Regions from separate parts of the Homo sapiens genome. Here all the other regions are linked to region 1. The links are contacts of gene promoters, found by promoter capture Hi-C in human tissues and cell types (Jung and others, 2019). All regions are on one chromosome and are shown on one strand. Each heading gives the region's core, a stretch centred on a gene start or on the middle of the fragment in contact. The rest is flanking DNA. Distances are from core to core; before and after follow the strand shown. Region 1 holds the start of STAC2 (SH3 and cysteine rich domain 2). Region 2 has its middle 18 kb from the start of FBXO47. Region 3 overlaps LOC105371767 (a long non-coding RNA gene). Region 4 has its middle 20 kb from the start of LINC02079. Region 5 overlaps FBXL20 (F-box and leucine rich repeat protein 20).

Region 1 (5,066 bases), core at 1,130-3,629:
CAGACCTGTGGCCCTTGACCTTCCCTCCCCACACAGCTGAGCAGGCAGCTTGCTGGAGTACTGAGGCAGCACTACCCCACACTCCTGCCCGCCTTCCAGCACTCCCACATAGGAGGAGGCTGGAGAGGACAGGCCTTGGTGTGGGAAACAGGGCAGGGCCTGGGAGGCCCCCAAGCCCCTGGAGGCAAGCAGGGGGACTGTGTATGTCTACCCAGGTGACTAGAGGGCAACCGAAATCAGGGGCATTGGAACTCAGGGGAGGTTCAGCTCCTAGACCTTCTGCTTGACAGAAGTTGTCACAAATATTCCAAGCAATATCCTCCCACCCAAACATCTTAGTCCTTTCCCAGGAGAGACTGAGACTTGGCTCTCTAAAGGGGAGTCAGCTCTGGCCTCACAGACCAGAGTCTCATTTTTAGAAGGGGGCAAGAGAGAGTCAGGTGTGCATGTGAAGACTTGAATGTGGAGACCTGCTGGGTCCCCTGGTGCAGGATGGGGGCTCCCTGGGGTGCCTCTGCCAGACTCCACCCTGACCCTACGGCCTCCTCCTCCGGTCACTCCCTTGATGACCTTGACCTTGAATTAACCTCAGCTCCTGCGGGATGGTCAAGATGGAAGAAGGAGGAAGGGGGACAGTGGAAAGAAGCCTAGCGAACCCAGGACGCCTCCGGAGCCCAGGCTCCCATCATTTCTGGTCCTCACTGTCCCCTTTCGCCTCTGGAGAACAGGAGCAGGATGGGAACAAAATACCGGGTGAAGGGGGAGGGAGGAGGTCTTGGCCTGAAGTCTGGGAGGTGGCAGGGCGCGCCCTTGGCACAGCCCTTTCTATCCCAACCCCAGGCCCGCTCAGGTTGATCCCGCAGAAACAGAACTTCTCGCGGGCCAGTCGCCAGCACCTAGAACTTGGGAAGGGAGCAGACGGATTAGAGGTCGGGGGAGTGCTGAGTGTGAGCGGCGGCCTCCCCACACCCCTTTCAGCGCCAGGAGTCTGGGCTCCGCCTGCCTTCGCGGGGAGTAATTTATTCATGGTGACTCCCTCAGGAGTAACAATCATCCATAATTAGGGTTAATGATGACATTCATTAATTACGATGACTTCTCTTTTTGCTTCTACCCGCTCCCCCTCCTCTGGTCCCGCTCCCGTGGTGGGGCGCGGGGCTGCCTGTCTTTCTGGTCTGGAGCCACAACCGCAGGCCCCCGTCCTCGCCCGTGACCGACGGCCGGCGCTGCTGCAGGCCCCCTCGCGGACTCCGCAGCTGCGCACCCCCGGCCGCGGCCTCGCGTCCCCGAGCCCAACAGGGCTAGGAGCGGGGAATGCAGGACTGCGGAGGGGCAGGGAGAGACGCCCTGAGACGCGGAGATAAACACCCGGAGACGCCGGGAGAGACGGGGAGAGACGCACACAGAGACACCAAGACACAGACACGCAGGTTGTAGAGACAAATTCAGAGACACGAGCGAGGATAGAGGCGCGGACTGAGCCCGGGACTGGGACCCGGCGGCCGCTGGAGGGTGCGCCTCGCACGCACAGCCGGGCGCGTACCCCGCCCGCACCGCTCCACGCGCGCCCTCCGGCCTCGCTGCGCCCATCTCTCCAACGAAGACCAGTGGCCGCCTCCCCAGAAGGTCGCGATGGCGCGCGCGGGCGTGCGGTGCCGGTGTGATCGGGGGCTCCTTGTGGCCCCTCGTCGCCAACCCACTCCTACCCCCGGGAGCGGCGCGGAGCCTCAGTGGTCACGCGGGCCTCGCGACCGCGACCCTAGGACGCCCGGGCCCACAGGAGGACCCCGCCGGGAAGAGGGCGCCCGGGCCCGGGGCGCGGACAGGCCTTGCGCCCCCCAAGTTACCTTGGTTTCCTGGAGGGCGGAGACGGTCCCTGGGGGGCTGTGGGTGGCCGCGTCATCCGGTTCGTTCTCCTTCTCGCTCATCTCGGTCATGGTTCGGGGAGAGGGGAGGAGAGGGTGCCGAGATCCGACGGCAGGCCCACCGCGGGCAGGCTGCGGGTGGCGGGCGTCTCCGGGACTCTGAAGCCGTTCTCCAGAGGCTGCCCCCAGTTAGCCCCCGGCACGGCAGCCCCCAACCCGCGGGAGCGGGCAGAGAAAGTTGCCGGGGTGGCGGGCGAGGGGAGGCCACCACGCTGAGCCGCAGGAGCGGGACGACCCCGGGCGCGAGGACCGAGGGTCTGCAGAGGATGCTGCTCGCAGCGCGGGGAGGAGGGAAGTGGGGCCGCGGGGATGAGCCGAGGGAGGGAGCCAAGGAGCTGTCCGTGTCCAGCCGGCTCCGCCGTCCGCTGCGCCCGCCCCCCATCCCCTCCCCTCCCCCGCCGGCCCCAGCCCGGCACCCGGCGGCCCCTCCGCCCAGTCCTCGCCGCCCAACTTTGATTTAGGAGGTCGCCTGGTCCCGCCCCCTGCCCTACGCCGCTCCCCCGCGCAGCCCTGCAAATCAGGCTCTCAGCTATTGGCTGCCTCGGTGGCCAGGAGGGCGAACTGGGCGGAGTCTTGGGGGGCTCGACACGATGGGGCGGGGCTTGGCGGGGAAAGAAGCGGAGGAGGGAGTTTCACACTGAAAAACCCGGGATGGAGGGGCGTGACCAGATTGAGGGAAGCTTGGGGAGATCATAGTAGCGTCTGGATGGGTTGCAGGGAATAGAAATAGGTTGGGGCCGCAGCAAGATAGCGGAGAGTGAGATCGAAGCTAGGACTTCCAAAGAGCGAAGATTGATAGATGCCAGAGGTTGGTGAAGGAAGAATGGGGACCCATCTGTGCCATTAATTGGATGCCTTTATACCCTGAAAAGGCTCTCTCCAAATATACACACAACTGGACTATGGTGTATGTGTCAAAGGCCAGGCCGGACAATTCCTCCTTGTGATGGAAAGCCGGATGACTCTATCCCCTTCCAGTCTTGGCGTCTGAACTTCAGCAGAGATGGGGGCTCAGTCCTCACACCCAAAGTCCCCAAACTTCTCTGAGACACGCTCCCCTCCTAAAGATCCTACCACAACTGGAGTTAGATCAGGGGATAATACAGAGAGGTGGGGGAAGAGGTCCTCACCATCACCTTCCAAGGTGCCCCTCTCTCCACAATAACCTTCTATTTTTTATTTTTTTATTTTTTTATTTAGAGACAGGGTTTCACTCTTTCACCCAGGCTGGAGTGCAGTGGTGCGATCATAACTCACTGCAGTCTCAAACTCCTAGGCTCAAGCAATCCTCCCACCTCAGCCTCTCTAGTTGCTGGGACCACAGGCATACGCCACCATGCCTGGCTAATTTTTAAAATTTATTGGTAGAGACAAGTCTTGCTATGTTACACAGGATGATCTCCAACTCCTGGGCTCAAGCGATCTTCTCACTTTGGCCTCCCAACGTATTGGGATTACAGGCGTGAGCCACTGTGCCCGTTCAAGATATTTCCAATATTTCTTCTTCTCCTTCTCTTCTTCTTCTTTTTTTTTTTTTTTTTTTTTTTTTTTTTTTGGAGACAGGATCTTGCTCTATTGGCCAGGCTGTAGTGCAGTGGCTTGATCACACCTCACTGTAGCCTGGACCTCCTGGGCTCAACCCTCCCAAGTAGCTGGGACCACAGGCACATGCCACTGCACCCAGCTAATTTTAAAATTTTTTGTAGAGATGGAGTCTCGCTATGTTGCCCAGGCTAGTCTTAAACTCCTAGGCTCAAGTGACCCTCCTGCCTCAGCCTCCCAAAGTGCTGGGATTACAGGTGTGAACCACCACACCTGACCAAGATACCTCTTCTAATGCATGTTGATTATCTGGGACCCATTTTCTCAGGTCCCCCTCCCTCACCTCCAGCCCTCTTTCCTTCTGCCCCTTCTGGCTCTGACCAGCAGATCTGGCTTCCTCTCTTGGTCTGCCCAAGAAAAGGGAGATGCACTGGTGGCTGAGAGAACCTTTCCCTGGTGTGGGTGGAGAGACTTCTGGGTTTAAGTCTCCCTCCTCCTCTGCTGTGGGTGGTAAGATTGTGGGTGGGGGGTGCCACATGGGGGGCCTGAGGTGCTGAAGGGGGCCCTTATGCTAGCCTGAAAGTTGAGGGGTGGGGTGAACACCTCCACCCCCCACTCACCTCCCCCCATGCACACAGCCATTCATAGGATCTCTGCCCTCCCAAGCACGAGCTCACCATTGGAGCCCTGCTCAGGTTACCCTGTCCAGGAATAGAGATTTATTTGCCAGTGGCAGAAGTAGGACAAGGGCACAGTGAGGGTTCATGGTTGTAGGGGCTCTGACTTCGAGATTTCCTGAGGAAGGTGGGATGGAGCCTGAGTGCCATCAAATCAGTCTCCCCAAAGGCCTGTTCATGGCCAACCTTCCCCCATCTCCCACTGGACTGTCCTTCTCACTCCTGCCCAGCCCAGGCCAGTCCAGCCTTCCCTCCCTGGGCAGCTCAGATGCTGGGATGCTTGCAGCATTGAGACAGCAACATCAGGCCCTCCACTTATCCTGGGCTGGAACACACAGGGCCTTCTTCTGAGTTTGGAGATCTTCTGGGGGAGGTGCCCCTGTCTCCTCCCAAAGAGCAGGGGCTTTGGGTTCCTTAGGGGCCAGTACCTCTTTGGTCACTAATTAAGTGTGTGACCTTGGGCAGATAACTCAATCTTTTAGAGATTTTGTTTGTTTTGAGACGGAGTCTAGCTTTTGTTGCCCAAGTTGGAGTGCAATAGCAGGACCTCGGCTTACCACAACCTCCGCCTCCTGGTTCAAGCGATTCTCATGCCTCAGTCTCCCGAGTAGGTGGGATTACAGGTGCCCGCCACTACATCCAGCTAATTTTTTGTATTTTTAGTAGAGAGAGGTTTCACCATGTTGGCCAGGCTGGTCTGGAACTCCTGACCTCAGGTGATCCACCTGCCTCACCCTCCCAAAGTGCTGGGATTACAGGCATGAGCCACCGTGTCTGGCCTATAGCCTTGGTTTCTTCATCTGAAAAATAGTCATCGTGCCTACCCCACTGCTAGAATGAATGAGATAGTGTAGAGTGGCACTTAGCCCAGACAAGACAGGAAGACAAGACAGGAAAATTTATTTTAAAAAAAAAAGTGTTT
Region 2 (5,066 bases), core at 702-3,201, 240 kb before region 1:
CACAGTATCGAAGAGCTCATTACTGTTACTGAAGAGCTCATTTTCAAGGAGAAATGTGTGCTGCAATTCTCCCAGAAGGTGGCAGCAGAAAGCTGTATACGACAATATGATTTTTCAAATGAAGCGGGGGGATATCCTAAAGGCAGAAAACTGGAAAGCACTTTAGCTGACACAGAACACTCTCATTTTACAGATGAGAAAGCTGAGTTCCAAAGAGATTACCTGAGTTTCTTAGGCAAAATTCTTCATTGAAATAAATTCCCTGAGGCCGAGCATGGTGGCACACGCCTGTAATCCCAGCACTTCGGGAGGCCCGGGTGGGCAGATCACCTGAGTTTAGGAGTTTGAGACCAGCCTGGCTAACATGGTGAAACCCCATCTCTACTAAAAACACAAGAATTAGCCAGGCGTGGTGGCGCACGCCTGTAATCCTAGCTACTCAAGAGGCTGAGGCAGGAGAATCACTTGAACCTAGGAGGCGGAGGTTGCAGTGAGCCAAGATCAGCCATTGCACTCCAGCCTGGGTGGAAGAGCAACGCTCTGTCTCAAAAAAAAAAGAAAAGAAATAAATTCCTTGAGAGCTGGGAGCAATGGCATGCACCTGTAGTCTAGACCCAGCAACTCAGGAGGCTGAAAAAGGAGGATGGCTTGAGCCCAGGAGTTCTAGGCTATAGTGCACATAATTGTGCCTGTGAATACACTGCAAATTAAAACCTGGGAAATATAGCAAGACCCTGTCATAAATAAATAAATAAATAAATTCCTTGAAATATGTCACACTATGCAGATTTCACTATGCATATTATGCTCAGTGTAAGCAAAATTATTTTTATTTTTGGAGACAGGGTCTTGCTCTGTCACTCAGGCTGGAGTACAGTGGCACAAATCATGGCTCACTGCAGCCTCAATCTTATAGGCTCAAGCAATCCTCCTGCCTCAGCCTCCCAAAGTGCTCGGATTACAGATGTGAGCCACTGTACCTGGCTGCAAATTTAATTAGACATAAAAATATAATATTAAGTTATGATAGAAAAAGCTTTGGGATATTTCCAGAACTTCCCCTCTCTCCACCTTTTTTTTTTTTTTTTTTTTTGAGACTGAGTCTCCCTCTGTTACCCAGGCTGGAGTTCAGTGGTATAATCTTGGCTCACTGCAACCTCTGCCTCCCAGGTTCAAGCAATTCTCCTGCCTCAGCCTCCTGAGTAGCTGGGATTACAGGCACCTGCCACCACACCTGGCTAATTTTTTGTATTTTTTAGTAGAGACAGGGTTTTACTATATTGGCCAAGCTGGTCTTGAACTCCTGTCCTCAGGTCATCTGCCCACCCTAGCCTCCCAAAGTGTTGGGATTATAGGTGTGAGCCACCGTGCTCTGTCAATCTGTCAATTTTTTTTCATTACAAAGTCAAAGACAACCAACCCAAAATTTTAAAAGCTCATATTACAAAACGAAGAAACACCAAAGCAGTGTTATAAAATTTGTGTTACATTAAAAAAATTTATGTTTAATAAGTTAGAATTCCAAACCAAGGAATACATTGCAATATAACTGTGCCAGTCATAAGGTAATAATAGGACATATGAAATATTAATTCACAGGGCACTAAAGAAAGTGTGTGGGCTGGTATTGGGACATATGCTTAAGGCTGTATAATGAATATCTTCATTTCTTCTTTTTTTTTTTTTTCAAAGCAACAACATAAAGTTGTAGGGATATCTTCATTCTTGCTCATTTTTGAGACTGTTGTGCTCTCATTTGGAGATGACGTCAAAGTTTGAATTTGATGACCCTTTGTGACAATGGGGGCTCAGCTAAGCAGCTCTCTGGACTCCCATTATAATAAGCTGTACATACTTTCTGATGTAATAGTAGAGATACTTGGTACTTTATCCTAGAAAAATGTTTTTATTATCAAACATGACAGGCTACTTATGTGGCTGTATTTTATTTATTTTATTTATTTATTTTTTGAGACGGAGTCTTGTTCCATCACCCAGGCTGGAGTACAGTGATATGATCTCAGCTCACTGCAACTTCTGCCTCCCAGGTTCAGGTGATTCTCCTGCTTCAGCCTCCCGAGTAGCTGGAATTACAGGCATGCATCCCCACACCCGGCTAATTTTTGTGTTTTTTGTAGAGACAGGGTTTCACCATGTCGGTGAGGGTGGTGTTGAACTCCTGGCCTCAAGTGATCCGCCCTCCTTGGCCTCCCAAAGTGCTGGGATTATGGGAGTGAGGCACCACGTCTGTCCTGAGGCTGTATTTTAGGTATTGTTCCTTTGTTAACGTTGGAAAATGGCCGAGGAAGCTAATGGGCTGCACGCAGCCAAAGGACATAGTGGCCCGGTTTGTACCCTTCGAGGTACCTGAGGAGCCTCAGTAAAACTTTACCCCGAAAAGGGCCATTTTCTCCTTTTAGCCACTTGCATAAAGAAGAATGATAGTTTACTATGTATTGAAATTGTCCATCACAAGTATTTTTTCTGAGGGTTATGGTCATCACACAGCACCACAAAGGCATTAGGAAAAGAAGCAGTCTAGACAAGTCCAATCAAGTAGATGGCCTTGGTGTTGACACTGAGCCAGATTTACAAATAAAGCCCAAACTTAAACAACAACAAAAAAACTATATTGTTAGGAATGTCTTTTAAAATTACATTTATGGCCAGGTGTGGTGGCTCATACCTATAATCCCAGCACTTTGATAGGCTGACATGGGAGGATCACTTGAGCCCAGGAGTTTGAGACCAGCCTGGGTAACATGATGAAACCAAAAATGTTACCAAAAAATGTAAAAAATGAACTAGGCATGGTGGCACCCACCTGTAGTCCCAGCTACCTGGGAGGCTGAGGTGGGAGGATCACGTGAGCCTGGGAGGTTGAGGCTAGAGTGAGCCACGTTCACGCCACTGCACTCCAGCCTGGGTGACAGAGTGAGACCTTGTCTCAAAAAAAATTATTAAATATTGAAGAGATCAAAATAATATTTGCAAAATATATAAAGTAATAAAGAATCATGATACAATGGACCCTTATGTATTCCCCACCACTCATGTAAGAAACGTGAGGAACAACATCATTGTGAACTTTGAAGTCCACTGGGATTCCCTCCTAGGTCCCCTCCCTTCTTTCTCTCCTTGGAGGTAACCATTATCCTGAATTCATGTTTTTAAATTCCTTTGTTTTTAATTATAGTTTTACCACATGTGTTTGTATTCCTAATATTTATATGTATATAAGTGCTTAAAATTTTAACAGAAATATAGCATGCATACAAAATCATGCATGTTGGCTGGGCGCAGTGGTTCACGCCTGTAATCCCAGCACTTTGGGAGGCCAAGGCGAATGGACCACCTGAGATCAGGAGTACGAGACCAGCCTGACCAACATGGTGAAACCCTGTCTCTACTAAAAACACAAAATTAGCTAGGCGTGGTGGTGCACACCTGTAATCCCAACTACTTGGGAAGCTGAGGCGGGAGAATAGCTTGAACCTGGGAGGTGGAGGTTGCAGTGAGCTGAGATCGCACCACTGCACTTCAGCCTGGGCAATAGAGCGAGACTCCATTAAAAAAAAAGAAAATCACGCATGAAAAAAATGATTTAAGGCTGGGTGTGGTGGCTTATGCCTGTAATCCCAGCACACTGGGAGGCTGAGGCAAGAAGATCGCTTGAGCTTAGGAGTTTGAAACCAGCCTGGGCAACATAGCAAGACCTCGTCTCTACTGAAAAAAAAAAAAAAAAATTAGCCTGGCAGTGGTATGTGCCTATGGTCCCAGCAACTTAGGGTGCTAAGGTGAGAGAACAGCTTGAGCCCAGGAAGTCAAAGCTGCAGTGAGTTATGACCATTCCACTGCCCTCCAGCCTGGGCCACAGAGGGAAACCCTATATCAAAAATAAAATAAAGGGTCGGGCGCAGTGGCTCATGCCTGTAATCTCAGCATTTCAGGAGGCCAAGATGGGTGGATCCTCTGAGGTCAGGATTTCAAGACCAGCCTGGCCAACATGGTGAAACCCCGTCTCTACTAAAAATACAAAAATTAGCCGGGTGTGGTGGTGGCACGCCTATAGTCCCAGCTACTCCGGAGGCTGAGGCGGGAGAATCGCTTGAACTCAGGAGGCGGAGGTTGCAGTGAGCACAGATTGTGCCACTGCACTCCAGCCTGGGTGACCAAGTGAGACTAGGGAGACTCCCATCTCAAAAAAAAAATTAAAAAAAGTAATTAAAAAAAACAATAAAATGAACACACATGAATCTTTTGCCAGTCAAGCAAGAGAACATTGTCACGTTCAGGGAGCCCATGTGCCACTTCTCCAATTGCATCTCCTTTCTTCTTCCGAGAGAAGAATACTATCTGGAATTGTACTAACCACTTTTTATAGTGTAAAATATACACAACATGAAAGTTAACATTTTAACCACTTTTTTTTTTTTTTTTTTTTTGTGAGACGGAGTCTTGCTGTGTTGCCCAGGCTGGAGTGCAGTGTCGCAATCTCGGCTCACTGCAGCCTCCGCCTCCCGGGTTCAAGCAATTCTCCTGCCTCAGCCTCCCGAGTAGCTGGGATTACAGGCATGCGCCACCAAGCCTGGCTAATTTTTGTATTTTTAGTAGAGACGGGGTTTCACCATGTTGGCCAGGATGGTCTTGATCTCCTGACCTTGTGATCTGCCCACCTCAGCCTCCCAAAGTGCTGGGATTACAGGCATGAGCCACCGCACCCGGCCAACCATTTTTAAGTGTACAGTTCTGTGGCATTAAGTCCATTCACATTGCTGTGCAACTATGACTACCATCCATCTCCAGAACTTTTTCATCTTCCCCAAATGAGACACTGTATCCATCAAACAATAACTACCCAATCCTGCCTCTCCCCAGTCCCTGGCACCACCCATTCTACTTTCTGTCTCTGTGATTTTGACTGCTCCAGCTACCTCATATAGGTAGAATCATTCAATATTTGTCCTTTTGTGACTGGCTTATTTCACTTACTGTAAAGTTGTCAAGGTTCATCCATGTTGTAGTATGTGTCAGAATTTTCTTCCATTTAAAGGCTAAATAATATT
Region 3 (5,066 bases), core at 1,770-4,269, 200 kb before region 1:
GCTGACATAGATGGTGCTTCCTCTTGGGTGGGCGCGGTGGCTCACGCCTGTAATCCCAGCACTTTGGGAGGCCGAGGCAGGCAGATCACGAGGTCAGGAAATCAAGACCATCCTGGCTAACATGGTGAAACCCCGTCTCTACTAAAAATACAAAAATTAGCTGGGCGTGGTGGTGAGTGCCTGTAATCCCAACTACTTGGGAGGCCGTGGCAGGAGAATTGCTTGAACCCAGGAGGCAGAGGTTGCAGTGAGCTGAGATCACGCCATTGCACTCCAGCCTCGGTGACAGAGCAAGACTCCATCTCAAAAACAACAACAACAATTTAGAAGAAGTTGATTCCAATGCTTATGGATGACTTTGAGGAGTTCAGACTTCAGTGGAGAGTAACTGCAGATGTTGTGGAAATAGCAAGATAACCAGAATTAGAAGTGGAGCCTGAAGATGAAACTGAATTGCTGCCATCTCATGATAACACTTGAATGGATGAGGAGTTGCTCCTTTTTTTTTTTTTTTTTTTTGAGATGAAGTCTGGCTCTTGTGCCCCAGGCTGGAGTGCAGTGGTGTGATCTCGGCTCACTGCAACTTCTGCCTCCCGGGTTCAAGCGGTTCTCCTGCCTCAGCCTCCCGATTAGCTGGGATTACAGGCACTTGCCACCATGCTCAGCTAATTTTTGTATTTTTAGTAGAGATGGGGTTTCACCATGTTGGCCAGGCTGGTCTCGAACTTCTGACCTCAGGTGATCTGCCTGCCTCAGCCTCCCAAAGTGTTGGGATTACAGGCGTGAGCCACCGCGTCAGGCCAGGAGTTGCTTCTTATGGATGAGCAAGGAAAGTGGTTTCTTGAGATGGAATCTACTCCTGGTGAAGATACTATGAACATTGTTGAAATGGCAACAAAGAATTTACAATATTCCATAAGCTTAGTTAATAAGCAGCAGCAGAGTTTGAGAGGATCAACTCCAATTTTGAAAGAAGTTTTACTGGGGGTAAAATGCTATCAAACAGCAGTGCATGGTACAGAGAAATCTTTTGTGAAAGGAAGAGTCAATCAATGTGACAAACATAACTGTTGTCTTATTGTAAGAAATTGTTATGACCACCCAACCCTTCAGCAACCACTACCCTAATCAGTCAGCAGGCATGACATTGAGGCAAGACCCTCCACCAGCAAAAAGATCATGACTTGCCAGAGGCTCAGATGATTGTCAGCATTTTTTAGGCAATATTTTAAAGTTAAGGTATTGATAGCGGCAGGAGGCAGACAGATCCTAGGCAGACAGGGGTGGGTCCCCAATGAAAGCTGACCTCCAAACCAGACAGTTTAAAGGCTGAAAGCCAAGCTACAAGTCTTGGATAAATCCGTGGACAGATTGAGAACCTCTCTTTCTGTTTGGCACGCTTTCCTCTGATCGATCCCTGCCTTTAACCTATTTTACATATGCCTACTCTTCCCTGTTTTTTTACGCTGTGCCCATCTTTAAGTGGTGCCTTTTTTTTTCAGCCTTTTTGGCATACTCACAAACCAGTCAGCACACACTCTCCCATTCTGAACCCATAAAAATCCTCTTCAGTCCTGGTTCCACTTCCTGTAACTGAAACAATTACCTGCGAGGTATTATTTAACTTTTGGACTATGATGTTTCTAACCTGTGACCATTTCACATAGCCATTCAAATATAAAGGTACGGTAAAGATTATGAAACGGGTTGGGTGCAGTGGCTCATGCCTGTATTCCCAGCACTTTGGGAGGCCGAGGTGGGTGGATCATGAGGTCAGGAGTTCGAGACCAGCCTGAGCAACATGGTGAAACCTCGTCTCTACTAAAAATACAAAAATTAGCCAGGCGTGGTGGTGCGTGCTGTAATCCCAGCTACTCAGGAGGCTAAGGCAGGAGAATTACTTGAACCTGGGAGGCAGAGGTTGCAGTGAGCTAAGATCGTGCCACTGTACTCCAGCCTGGGCAACAGAGCGAGATTCCATCTCAAAAAAAAAAAAATGAAACAGTTACTTGGTATCATTTTGTAAGTAATGAGTTTTTAGTGCTCTTTGGACATTGAGACCATTTCATAAGATTTAGGTTTTGAGAATTTCACAGCATAAAGCCCATCACTGATGCAGCAATGAAGGAAATGTTCTACAACTCAACAGACAGGTGAGAGGAGAAATGTAATTCATATTAGATTTATTTATTTACTGAACTTAGAGCCTGGGGTTACTACTCGACCCCCACTGTTATCTAGTTTAAGTGTTCTTTTCTACTTTAGCACATACACCTAGTTTCTGTGTTTTTTGCCTTTTATAAATACAGAAAAGAGAATAATGTTTTAAAATAAAATCAAGGAAAGGCCTAAGGCACCTGAGAGGGTTTTGTTTTTGTTTTTGTTTTTTTTTTTTTCAGTGAAATGAAGGGAAATTGTTGCCAGCAAGAACTGTGGCAAGGTTATCCAAGGTGACAAATGTCTGTACCACCCAGCAGCTCCGAGTCCTTCTGAAGCATCCTGGTTGTCCAGAAAGACTCCACCGTGACTCATGATACCGGCCAGTCTTCCCGGTAGCACTCAACATTCGAAAATTAGTCTTCATTTCTCCTTCCCAACATGCATTTCTCCTTCTCTTCAGTTGGAGAAAGTAATTTAATTTTTTTTTTTATAGAGTCTCGCTCTGTTGCCCAGGCTGGAGTGCAGTGGCGCAATCTTGGCTCACTGCAAGCTTCGCCTTCTGGGTTCACGCCATTCTCCCGCCTCAGCCTCCTGAGTAGCTGGGACTACAGGTGCCCGCCACCACACCCGGCTAATTTTTTTTTTTTTGTATTTTTAGTAGAGACGGGGTTTCACCGTGTTAGCCAGGATAGTCTCGATCTCTTGACCTCGTGATCCGCCCGCCTCGGCCTCCCAAAGTGCTGGGATTACAGGTGTGAGCCACCGTGCCCAGCCTTACATCACCAATTCTTTCTTATATGTCTATTTTTTAAGTGTAGTATATGATTATATTCATGAAATTCAAATGATACAAATGAAGTCAAATCTATTTGTATTAGAAATTAATAAGAATTAACAGTAAAGTTAATTCTTTATTGATTTGCACACCTATAGTTGCAGCTACTTGGGAGGCTGAGGCAGGAGAATCGCTTGATCCCGGGACGTGGAGGTTGCAGTGAGCCAGGATGGCGCCACTGCACTCCAGCCTGGTGACAGAGCGAGACTCTGTCTCAAAAAACAAAACAAAACAAAAAGAATTGATGATGTAAGAAATCCACAGGAATGTGTAAATTATTTCAAGAATTAACACTCAGTAGATACTTGCATTCCCAAATAAGCTTATAAATGCAGATGAACCTCTAGTTGTTTTAGTTGCTTGTAAAATTCATAGAGGTACGTGTATTTCTTCATTTAACACGGGTTAGTCACTTGGGGAGGGGGATGGGTGTTGGGTTCTTTTTACCTGTTCTTCAGGTCACATACTCAAGCAGGAGCTACTGAATGGGAAGACTGAAACAATTTCTTTTCTTTGCACACTTGGTATTGATAAATGTCAGGTGTATGCAAAATAAAATCTCTGGCAGGTTGTGATATTTATGGGTCTATCTCTTGTGACTGTAGTTTCGTCTCGGCACCAGACATAAGGCAGTTCAATGTCAGGCCATTGCCCTAAACAGTTCCCGATGCCAAGAACTGACAAATTGCTACTTTGGTTTCAATGGATGGTCAAAAGGGATCATCAGGGCAAACCTTGTAGATTTTCTTTCACCAACCCTATTCTCCTTTCAACATTGAAATCCTAGACTTTAGACAGAAATATTGAACTGGGTTGTAGTGAGGAGATATGAGAGGCCTCCTGCCATTGAGGATAAGTGGATATGTCTGAATTGGCCTGCTACCTAGAATTAATAATCTCAATCACTTGGAGGGTGGTATCCATAATTTTCTCCACTATTTGTGCCACCACACCCGGCTATTTTTAGTAGAGATGGGGTTTCACCATGTTGGCCAGGCTGTTCTTGAACTCCTGGCCTCCACCTGCCTCAGCCTCCCAAAGTGCTGGGATTACAGGCATGGGCCACCATGTCCAGCCAACCAAACCTTTTTCTCTTTTTCTTTCCTTTTCTTTCTTTTCTTTTCTTTTTTTTTTTTTTTGAGATGGAGTTTCACTCTTCTTGCTCAGGCGGGAGTGCAGTGGTGTGATCTTGGCTCACTGCAACCTTTGCCTCCCGGGTTACAGCGATTCTCCTGTCTCAGCCTCCTGAGCATCTGGGATTACAGGCATGCACCACCACACCTGGCTAATTTTTGGTATTTTTAGTAGAGACGGGGTTTCACCATGTTGGTCAGGCTGGTCTCGAACTCCTGACCTCAGGTGATCCTGCCGCCTCAGCCTCCCAAAGTGCTGGTATTACAGGCGTGAGCTGCCGCGCAGGCCGTAAGTATGATTCTTATACAATAATCAGCGGCTTTGCTGTGAACCTTGGAAGTGGTCATGCTATTGAATGGCATTGTTTGTATTCCCCATTCACTTCTACAGTGGCACAAATGTTATAGGCTGTGCCTAAAGGAAACCTGATGATTAACAAAGAGTCCCTGAACAGAGTTGCTCCTGCTTCACAGTGCTGAAGGCTTAGAGACTGAGAGATCCTAATTAAGTTACCACAGACCTTTATTTGCTTGTAAGAGACGGCCCTGATTGCTCTCAGCTTTCCAACCTGGGCAGCCCTGCTAGTGAAAGTATTACTTCCTTGGTCATCAACTGTCAAGTCTGAGTAACAACCTTTAAGAACCAAACTGAATGTGTGGGTTGTTTACCTCTCCCTCATACTCGAAGGTATCCCTTGCACACCTTCAAAACCTCTTAGACCAAAAGCCTTATGGCTCTAGTTTGCCTGGAAGGAAGTTGTATTGTCTATAGAGTATGTGTGCCAGTTTCTGCAATAAAATGTTCAAATGTTCTCTCTCTCTGAAACTTTGTTCATTGTATCTGGTGGAATTTTGGTTCTCAGGGAGTAGACACCTGGCCCTTGCTTCTAATGTGAAGTGTCTACCAGCCCAGTGGTCTCTATTCCAGATTTGAACTT
Region 4 (5,066 bases), core at 926-3,425, 180 kb before region 1:
GTTTGCAGGGCGCCAAGCAAGGAGGACCAGGCAGTTAACAATCAAAGTCCCCCTCTGAATGGTAGCAATAATCATATCTCTTACAGATGAAATCAGGAATGAAATGGTCTATGGAAAACCAGCAGTGGTTGATAATACTAAATGTTAAGTATGTACATATTTTTTCCCTGACTTTAAAGTGCTTCTCCTTCATTTACCTACACAGGTCCGGATTGATGGCTTATTTTAAAAAATTTTCTTACTCACTTCATTGGTTCTAATAATACAAGCTCCATAATTTTGGAAACTGAATGACTCTGCAATGTAGAAAGGCTATACCTTGGCCCGGCGCGGTGGCTCACGCCTGTAATCCCAGCACTTTGAGAGGCCGAGGCGGGCGGATCACAGGATGCCCGGGCATTTGTAGAGAACACTGCCAAAGAAAAAAAGGCTCAGGAGTCCAGCCCCAAGGGAGCTGGAACAGCCTCACATGGTGCAGGGGCCAAGAAGTTAGCCAAGAACTACTTCATTTCCCACCCCCCATCAAATGATGCCAAGGAGACTAACTCCGAAGAGGACTGATGTAAAATGCTTCTGCCCAGCATGGGTGTTCACTGCACGAGAGCACTTGGCCAAGGGGGTGAGTGGGGCTGAAAATCCTGCTCAGGCTCCATGCTGAGCCACATACAAAGTCTCCCCGAGACATTGTGGGGCCCTTCTGGACAGACATGGAGAGCTTCTGAAAGTCCCGCATGCTTGGAATTATTTTCAAGACCCCAGGTATGTGGTCTGCAGTGGTTCTAATCACTGTTACTATGGACTGAGGTACTCATTTAGTCCTAATAAGACCAGAGAAGTACATTGTGAGAGGCGTGGGAACGGCAGCATCACTCACTGTCTTGTCCACGTGTCTCCCCGGAGGCATTTTCAGATTTCTGCCACATAGGAGATGCTCATGGCGAACTGAAACTCAGGTACATTGGAGGATTCATTGCTGTGGCCAGAGAAAGCAGAGGACATGCAAAATGCATATTTCCCTATCCTCCAGGATGGCTTTGTCTAGTTAAGACAGCCACTCTGGCTTAGGGGTATGTACAGACCTCCCAGTGCTGCACGCGTGAAAAACATGGCACAGAAACCTCACGGCAAGGAGTCTTCCAACAAGGATGACATCTTTCACAAGGACGTGGAGTAAACGACAGAGCCTTCGTGGTTCCCATCTAAAATGAAGAGGGAGTGAAAAGTTGAATTGCTCCTTTCAAGAATCAACAAGCTTGGCATTTTAATTCCTATCCCAGGGGCAGTGAAGCCCCAACAGAGAAAACTCAAACCAGAAAGTCGTCTGGCTGCTGAGCGGGAGGAGTGTGAGGTCCCCTGGGAGGACCTCAGGCCTCAGGCCTCTGCAAACTTGGGAAACTGCTGCTGAGGTCCTTCCAGCTCCATGGTCCCCAGGCTGGTGACTGATGGGGGAATATGGAGTCCAGCTGACTACCAGAGCCTGCATGTCTGCTGCTAGCCGGGAGGAAAGGATGACTTCTACCTCCTTTCCATATTCCAAATTTTACATGACTGCATTTTTTTGGCAGCACCCTGCTGGCAAAGGAGACTTGACGTGTGGTTCCTGGGCTTCTGTCACCTGCACAGACAGGGGTGAAATGAGTGTCACAAGCAGCCACCACTCTGCAGCATACCTCCACATCTAGGCGTGGTGGGGAGCCCCACTTATACTTGGAGGTGTCCTGGCACCCTACCCACTTTTTGGTAGGTGTTTGGGTGTCCAAGGCTTTGCAGAAGAAGCAGGCAGGGAGTCTATGGTGGAGTAACGTGGTGGAGAGGCCTGGAGAGGTGTCATTCTAGCTGGGCAGCGGGTGACACGCAGTCATCCCCTCAGTGAACGCTGGACGTGCTCTGTGGCTCCCTGCAGGCCTGCGGATCCACCAGGGGGCTCCGTTCCTTCTGGGCCAAAGCTGAAGAAGCGGCTGCTGCACCAGAGAAGTGCATCTGGATGAAGGTGGAAGCACACGCGGGCCCGCAGAACCGCCTAAGATATCTTCAGGTGTGGGCTTGGAACTGGTAGGCTTTCATTTCTGCTTCATTCCATGGCCAAAGCAAGCCACATGGGCAAGTCTGAAGCCGGGGCAAGAAAGTATCCTCCACCCACAACGAAACCATGGCAAGCGGTAGGTACTAAGAGGGCTGAGGAATTGAGGCCAATAGTTCTATCTATCCAAGTGAGTGAGGAGCTCTGCTTTGGGGATTGCACAACCTGGGTCTGCTCTTGCTGTGGTGTCTGTCACTATGAACATGACAACATGGATCGCCATCAGGTCAGGGACCCTGACAAGGCAAGAATCATGTCCTCCTCTGCACACAACCCCACTCCCTTCCCCACCATGCCTAACACCAAGCCTGGCCCTCAGGGATGACTCAGGAGAGCATTTTAGGCCATTCCTTCATTATCCCCATGTGACTTGTTGATAAAGATAAGTGCCTCTTCAAGTTCACCTTTTTGAATAAAAGGGATTTATTTAAATATTTCTTTTAAATCTCCACAGCTTTTCATATCTCACACTAACAGATCTTTTATTCTACTAATAATTCTTTGTTAAGCCCAAGTAGTTGTTAAATGGAGTAAAAGAGTGAGTATATTCTGTGTTCTTATATTGTAACCAAGGCCTATCTCATTTTTTCCCTAAGTCTGTCCAGACATGCCTGAACATGCCCAGGCATGTCCCAGCTTGCAGCCTATGCCCCTTCCTTATTTGGAAATGTTATTGCCTTCCTAGTTTCCTGTAAAAAGTCCCCTCCCTTCCTTTGTTTCCCATTGCACCTTTACCTATTTAGGAAAATTTCAAGGTTTTAGCCAGTCGGGATCAGTTTAGATTGTGAGGTGCAGCTCCAACCAGTGGAGGTAGGACACAGCAGTAGAAGCCCAGTGCGTCAGGGATAAGAACTCCTGCCTTTCTTTGTTCAGTGTGCTCTCGTGGCAGTCCAGCTTCCAAGAAGCACCCTTTCTGCAGAAAGTAAATTTGCCTTGCTGAGAAAATTATTTAAGTGCTGGTTCTTCTTTGCAGCACTGAGGAACAAGCATTTGTTTGCAACACTTGTTATGAAATATAGACTGGGCTGGGCGTGGTGGCTCACACCTGTAATCCCAGTGCTTTGGGAGGCTGAGGCAGGTGTATCACCTGAGGTCAGGAGTTCAAGACCAGCCTGGGCAACATGGTGAAACCCCATCTCTACTTAAAATACAAAAATTAGCTAGGCATGGTGGCATGTGCCTGTAATCCCAGCTACTCGGGAGGCTGAGGCAGGAGAATTGCTTGAGCCCAGGAGGTGGAGGTTGCAGTGAGCTGAGATTGCGCCATTGCACTCCAGCCTAGGTGACAGAGACTCTGTCTCAAAAAAAAAAAAAAAAAGAAAGAAACATAGACTTATTTCCTAAAGATCAGCACATAGTGCTAAGTATTTCCCCTGTAAGCTGTAAACAGACTCTGCCATTTGAAACTGGGATCTGTCCCCAGATGTGTCAGACCACCAAATCCCATGTCTACTGCTGCCCTCCAGAAGAAAGGGTTTATACAGAGCCAAACACCAAGGCAGGTTAGTGAAATTACTCTAAAGGCCATTTAAAGCTGGAAAGAGGCTCACCACCTGAAATGCCCTAAGAGGAAGGCTGTCTAGGGATCCAGATGGGACTTAAGGACAATTTTTTTTTGACACAGTCTCATTCTGTCTTCCAGGCTGGAATGCAGTGGTGCACTTGGCTCACTGCAAGCCTCAAGCTCCTGGGCTCAGGTGATCCTCTCACCTCAGCCTCCCAAGTAGCTGGGACTACAAGCATGTGCCACCATGCCCAATTAATTTTTTTTAAGATTTTTTTTGTAGAGACGGGGTCTCCTTGTGTTGCTCAGTCTAGTCTTAAACTCCTGGACTCAAGCAGTCCTCCTGCCTCTGCCCCTCAAAGTGCTAGGATTACAGGCATGAGCCAAAGCACCTGTCCTCTTAAGGACAATTTTAAGAATAGTGAGGCTCACCGTCAGAGCCCCTGCTGCTCTACAAAGCCCCTTGGCCCCTCTCATCAGGATAAAAGCAAGAGCAGCCCCAGATGTTTTGTCTTAATGGCCATCTTTCTCAGGAGACTTTGCTCTTTAAAGGAGAACCACTTAGAACTATGATTAACTCTAAAGAATGCCACCAGCACTACTGAATGCCAGGCATGGGCCTCATGGGTGAAGAGTATATTTTAGAGCAGTGATTCATGGTAAATTATCTCCCCCAGCCCCTAAAATTGACTATTCAATGTCAAACTATCTCAGGCTCAGGCCGACAAAAGTGGAGGTGTGACGAACCTAGGGTTGTTTCGAAGTGTCTTGGTTACGGTATATGTGGAAGATTTTAGAGCTTGTTGTAAAAACATGATGACCCATTGCTCTCCAGGCTGGGTGAGGGATTGCCTTTGTAGATTACAAGAGGATATTATGCAGCAGTTTTTAAAAATGAGGCAGACTAGGCCAGGTGAGGTGGCTCACGCTTGTAATCCCAGCACTTTGGGAGGCCAAGGTGGACAGATCACCTGAGGTTGGGAGTTCGAGACCAGCCTGACCAACATGGAGAAACCCTGTCTTTGCTAAAAATACAAAAATTAGTTGGGTATAGTGGCAGGCACCTGTAATCCCAGCTACTTGGGAGGCTGAGGTAGGAGAATTGCTTGAACCCGGGAGGCGGAAGTTGCAGTGAGCCGAGATAGCGCCACTGCACTCCAGCCTAGGCAACAAGAGCAAAACTCCATCTCAAAAAAAAATAAAGGTGGGGGGCAGACTGGGGCAATCTGTCTCCAGAATACATAGGTGCTGTTAAGGGAGTAAAGCAAGATGTAGGAGGGCGTGTATAGTATGCTACTGTGTGCTGTGCATTAGCTGTACAGAATTGTGTGGTCCGATACAGTAGCCACTAGCCACATATGGCTACTTATGTATAAATTTAGGCCAGGCAGGGTGGCTTATGCCTGTAATCCCAGCACTTTGGGAGGCCAAGGTGGGAGGATAACTTGAGGCCACAGCCTGGGCAACATAGTGAAACCATTT
Region 5 (5,066 bases), core at 684-3,183, 140 kb after region 1:
TGTGAGCCACTGCGCCTGGGTCCCAATGAATCATATCTTTGTGGCAATGCCCCTTTGCAATGCAATTTTGTTGCTTCTCCCTTCAAAAGATGGGGTTTATTTTCCCACCCCTTGAATCTAGGTTGACATAGTGACTTGATTTGACCAAAAGAATGTGGTGGGGCTGGGTGCAGTGGCTCACGCCTGTAATCCCAACAATCTGGGAGGCCAAGGAGAGTGGATTGCTTGAGGCCAGGATTTTGAGACCTGGGCAACATGGCAATACCTTCTCTCAAAAACAACAACAAAAATTATCTGGGCGTGGTGGTGCACACCTGCAGTCTCATCTACTCAGGAGGCTGAGGCGGGAGGATTGCTTGAGCCAGGGAAGGCAGAGGTTACAGTGAGCCAAGGTCGTGCCACTGCACTCCAGCCTGGGAGACAGAACAAGACCCTGTCTCAAAAAAGAAAAAGAAAAAAAGAATGTGGCAGGAATAACACTGTGATTTCCCAGGCTAGGACTTAAGAGACAATAAAGCTTTACCCTCTTGACAGACTCCTGCAGCCATCTAAGGAAGTCCACACTAAACTCCTGAATGATGAGAGATCATGTGGAGAACAAGAACTGGCTGACAGCAACACCAAAAGGTCTCAGAGTATAAGTGAGGCCATCTTAGACACGTAAGCCCCACTCAAGTCACCAAATGACTGCAGTCTTATGAGCGACCTATTGGGGAGATGGCAGGACCGTCAGGCTGCATAATGAATTGTTTTAAGCCACAAAGTTACAGGGTGGTTGTTAAATAGCAAATACTACAAAAACAGGTTCTCTATTGAAGAAGTTTATGACTCACGATCTAAATTTCATAGATTAAGAAATTTAAAAAAAGAAATTTCATAGATTAAGCAAAATTTCTAACATACAAAGGTAGCCCAATACAGGTCAAATCTTTTGGTGGTAGGAAAATGTTAATGAGAGATTAAGAATCAATTTTCATTAAAAAAAATCCAGAGTTGAAGCTGCAGAAGATTTTTTAAATGTGTATTTTTCCTATAAGTAATTTTTACTGATTATGCCATTCCTTCATTCAACCAACACCAGATGTTTTTTCCAGTTGGCCAGTTTTCTTGCCCGAATCTAAAAGGAAAAACATTTTTGTTTGGCCAGATAAACCTAAAACAAAGTAAGTTTATAATTCCTCCGCCCAACATCTTGTCCCTAGCAGAAATAAAATTGCTTTTTAGAAGCTAACTACTGCCAGTGCATTGCCGTCTCATGACTAAACTTCTCCTAAGAAAGAAATCACTAGATAAAAACATTACGGAAGGAATACATTTAGCTAACAGACACATTACTTAATAGGTCAAACTTTCTGCTTTGGACACCTTCTAACATCTGACTCAATATTCTGAGCTTTCTTTTATGCTGACTTCTGTTTCATTTACTTAACCCAAACCTATGTCCACTACCAATTCACTGCTCTCAGTCCAAAAATAGAGCATCTACACACTTTTATTTTTTTCTTTTCAGTATTTTTAATTTATTTGACATTAACCATCCTCAGCAACAGTCTAGGACCTGGAGGATTCCATGAACTCTGAAGAACTGAATATGACTGAATCTCATGTTGAACTGGTGCTGCTTAATCCTGGAAATGTTCCATGCCCTACTGAAAACTTCTTTTGAAGTTATGAAGTGAAAGGAAAGAAACTAAAATTCAAAGTGACAATATTATTTCATGTCCACCTCTCCTCCTCCTTCCTCCATTTCCCTTAGTTTCACTTCATCTGTAACACAGGAAAGAACTAAGAGGTGGATACTAAAAGACAACAACGGAATTTAAAAAAATTTTTTTTTTTTTAGAGATGGGGTCTCGCTATGTCTGAAGTAGACTGGCTATTCACAGGAGCGATCATAGTACACCCTCAAGCAATCCTCCAGCCTCAGTCTCTAAGGTAGCTGAAATTACAGTACATGCCACTGCTTCTGGCTGTATTCAGTGTAATTTTCTCACAATCTTTGTTTAAATTAAGCGTCCGTGTGAATATTTAGTATTTAGATACTACTCAGTGTCAGGACAAGCAGACAATAGGACTATGGACTCTTTCTCACCCTACATATAGGCTATCATATTTTTTTCTACTTTCTAGACTCTTTTCCCTCAACTGCTCCAAAATCTGTCACATCTGAATATTTTCCATATGCTCAAATGCATCAGATACTGTTTTTCTCTGGTGCTAAACATTCCCAGAACACTTTCTTTTCCTACACTCTAAGAAATTCCCTAGACTGGCTACACAACTGTCATCTTGGGCTCTCCAGTAGCTCTTCTCTTTTATTGCATTGTTTCCAGTACCCCATATTGTCTCACTTGCTTTTTAAGGGAACATCTCACAGTAATTTATGAAAAAACAGCTCATGGGAACTCAGGTTTTTAAGTCTCTTGCATGTCTAAAATATGTATTTACCTTAGACTCACATCTGATTGATAATTTGGCTTGCAATAAAATTATAAGATGAAAATCCTTTCCACTGAAGATATCTGAAGACACTGCTTGATGCATTTCTGACCTCGTAAGTTTCTGCTGTGATATATAATGCCATTCTAATTTGGGGTCCTTTGAATGTAACCTCTAGTTACTTTTGGAAGCTTTTAGTATATTCTCTTTATCCTCAGTTTACCAAAATTTCATCATCAAGCCTCTTGGTCTGAGGTTATTATTCTATCAGTCCTTTTTTTTTTTTTTTTCCTGAGATGGAGCCTCGCTCTGTCAGCCAGGCTGGAGTGCAGTGGCACAATCTCGACTCACTGCAAGCTCTGCCCCTGGGTTCACGCTATTCTGCTGCCTCAGCCTCCCAAGTAGCTGGGACTACAGGCACCCACCACCACGCCCAGCTAATTTTTTGTATTTTTTAGTAGAGACGGGGTTTCGGCGTGTTAGCCAGGATGGTCTCGATCTCCTGACCTCAAGATCTGCCTGCCTCAGCCTCCAAAAGTGCTGGGATTGTAGGCATAAGCCACCGCGCCCAGCCTATCAGTCCTTTCAATCTAGAAGTTTATATTTTTCAATCTGGTAAATATTTTGGAAGTTTTTCTGGTTTCTCTGTCCTCTCATTGTAGAATTCCTATTAGTCAAACATTGGACCTCCTGGTTTATCTTTTTCTTTTCTTTTTTTTTTTTTTGGAGATAGAGTCTCACTCTGTTGCCTAGGCTGGAGTGCAGTGGCGCAATCTCGGCTCACTGCAACCTCCAACTCCCAGATTCAAGTGATTCTCCTGCCTCAGCCTCCCAAGTAGCTGGGATTACAGGCGCCCACCACCACACCCAGCTAATTTTTATATTTTTGGTAGAGACAGGGTTTCACCATGTTGGCCAGGCTCATCTCAAACTCCTGGCCTCAAGTGATCTACCCACCTCAGCCCCTCAAAGTGCTAGGATTACAGGCATGAGCCACCATACCCAGTGAATCTTTAATTTGTTAAATAATTTTTCTCCTATATCCAAATTGCTTTGACTTTACTTCCAAATTTTTACTAATTCTTTTTGGGGGACAGAGGATTATCATATTTTAAAATTTTCAATAAGTTTCTATTTATTGAAAGATTATTTATATATATATATATTTTGAGAGTCTGGCTCCATCAGCCTGGCTGGAAGGCTGGAGTGCACTGGCCCAATCTCAGCTCACTGCAACTTCAGCCTCCCAGGTTCAAGAGATTCTCCTGCCTCAGGCTCCGGAGTAGCTGGAACTACAGGCACGCCCCACCACACCCAGCTAATTTTTTTTTTCTTTTTTTTGTACTTTTGGTAGAGAAGGGGTTTCACTATGTTGGCCAGGCTGATCTCAAACTCCTGGCCTCCAGTGATCCGCTGGACTCAGCCTCTCAAAGTGCTGGGATTACAGGTGTGAGTCACCACACCCCGCCTGTGAAAGATTTTTAAGAATAGTATCCTAGGCCAAACACAGTGGCTTACTCCTATAATCTCAACACTTTGGGAGGCCAAGGTAGGAGAATCACTTGAGGCCAGGAGTTCAAGACCAGCCTGGGCAACACAGCGAGAACTTATCTCTACAAAACAATAAAATAAAATTACACAGGCACAGTGGTGCACTCCTGTAGTCCTAGCTACTCAGGAGGCTAAGGCAGGAGGATCACTTGAGCCCAGGAGCTCAAGGCTGCAGTGAACTATGATCACACCACTGCACTCCAGCCTGGGCAACAAAGCAAGACCTTGTCTCTAAAAAAACTTAAAAATTTTTAAGAATGAAAAAGAAAGACATTTCACCACTACCTGATTTTAATCTCAAGCCTCATCTGTTTCTTAAGAGACCTTTTCCTACCAAGTCCTAAGTCTCTTTCCTACCAAGTCCTGAGTTTTGTTGAGTATACTTTTTGTTGCTGTTCAGTATACTTGCTTCTCCCTGACAAGCCCCTCTAAAAACAACAAAGGGTGTAGTTTCCTCCGCTTAGCTAAATCACTTAACACCCTTCTAACTTTTTTGTTTGTTTTTTGTTTTATTGAGATGGTGTCTCGCTCTGTTGCCCAGGCTAGAGTGCAGTGGTGCAATCTTACCTCACTGCAACCTCTGCCTCCCGGGTTCAAGCTATTCTCCTGCCTCAGCCTCCCGAGTAGCTGGGACTACAGGTGCAGGCCACCACACCGGGCTAATTTTTTGTATTTTTAGTAAAGACGGGGTTTCACCATGTTAGCCAGGATGGTCTCGATCTCCTCACCTCGTGATCTGCCCACTTCGGCCTCCCAAAGTGCTCGGATTACAGGCATGAGCCACCCCGCCCGAACCCATTTTTTTAATCTTCTAAAAAATAACTGAAGTTTCTCATGTATTGTGGTTTCTTCTTTCACTCACTTTTGTCCCTGTGATCTCATGTTTCTTTTGTTCCCTTATTATCATTTTAATGCTATTTGAAGAAAGGAAATAGGTATATTGGATCAAACCTCCATGTTTAACCAAAAGTACTATGCAATAGTTTTAGAAGTACTGGATAAAAATCATAAAGTACAGTATATTTACCAACCTTGTGGAGATTACAAAGCTCATTAGAATAAATAATGCCTCAAAC

The links. The method cuts DNA at HindIII sites, captures the fragments that hold promoters and counts their contacts. A contact is called where the count stands out against the background at its distance.
Region 2: a fragment that was not itself captured here is called in contact with the fragment with the promoter of STAC2 in region 1 in 2 of the 25 tissues and cell types used here (dorsolateral prefrontal cortex and spleen).
Region 3: a contact is called between a fragment that was not itself captured here and the fragment with the promoter of STAC2 in region 1, in 2 of the 25 tissues and cell types used here (dorsolateral prefrontal cortex and spleen).
Region 4: a contact is called between a fragment that was not itself captured here and the fragment with the promoter of STAC2 in region 1, in 2 of the 25 tissues and cell types used here (spleen and stomach).
Region 5: a contact is called between a fragment that was not itself captured here and the fragment with the promoter of STAC2 in region 1, in 6 of the 25 tissues and cell types used here (IMR-90 fibroblasts, bladder, dorsolateral prefrontal cortex and 3 more).

What each region holds. Positions count from the first base shown.
Region 1 is chr17:39,223,566-39,228,631 of GRCh38, forward strand. STAC2 (SH3 and cysteine rich domain 2) reads right to left here and starts at 2,380. Exons shown (of 11, transcript NM_198993.5): 1 at 1,848-2,380. The coding sequence starts at 1,937. RefSeq lists an enhancer at 1,638-2,138. The HindIII fragment of the contact is 22,351 bases long and covers 1-5,066 here.
Region 2 is chr17:38,983,243-38,988,308 of GRCh38, forward strand. No RefSeq gene overlaps it. Among named protein-coding and RNA genes, the nearest start is that of FBXO47, 18 kb to the left of the region's middle. The HindIII fragment of the contact is 7,886 bases long and covers 1-5,066 here.
Region 3 is chr17:39,019,794-39,024,859 of GRCh38, forward strand. The region is part of intron 1 of LOC105371767 (a long non-coding RNA gene); the gene reads right to left. Among named protein-coding and RNA genes, the nearest start is that of LINC02079, 4.8 kb to the right of the region's middle. The HindIII fragment of the contact is 5,779 bases long and covers 131-5,066 here.
Region 4 is chr17:39,044,183-39,049,248 of GRCh38, forward strand. It overlaps the pseudogene LRRC37A11P. Among named protein-coding and RNA genes, the nearest start is that of LINC02079, 20 kb to the left of the region's middle. RefSeq lists an enhancer at 1,894-3,093. The HindIII fragment of the contact is 7,953 bases long and covers 1-5,066 here.
Region 5 is chr17:39,364,170-39,369,235 of GRCh38, forward strand. All of the region lies in intron 1 of FBXL20 (F-box and leucine rich repeat protein 20), which reads right to left. Among named protein-coding and RNA genes, the nearest start is that of FBXL20, 35 kb to the right of the region's middle. The HindIII fragment of the contact is 6,030 bases long and covers 1-4,948 here.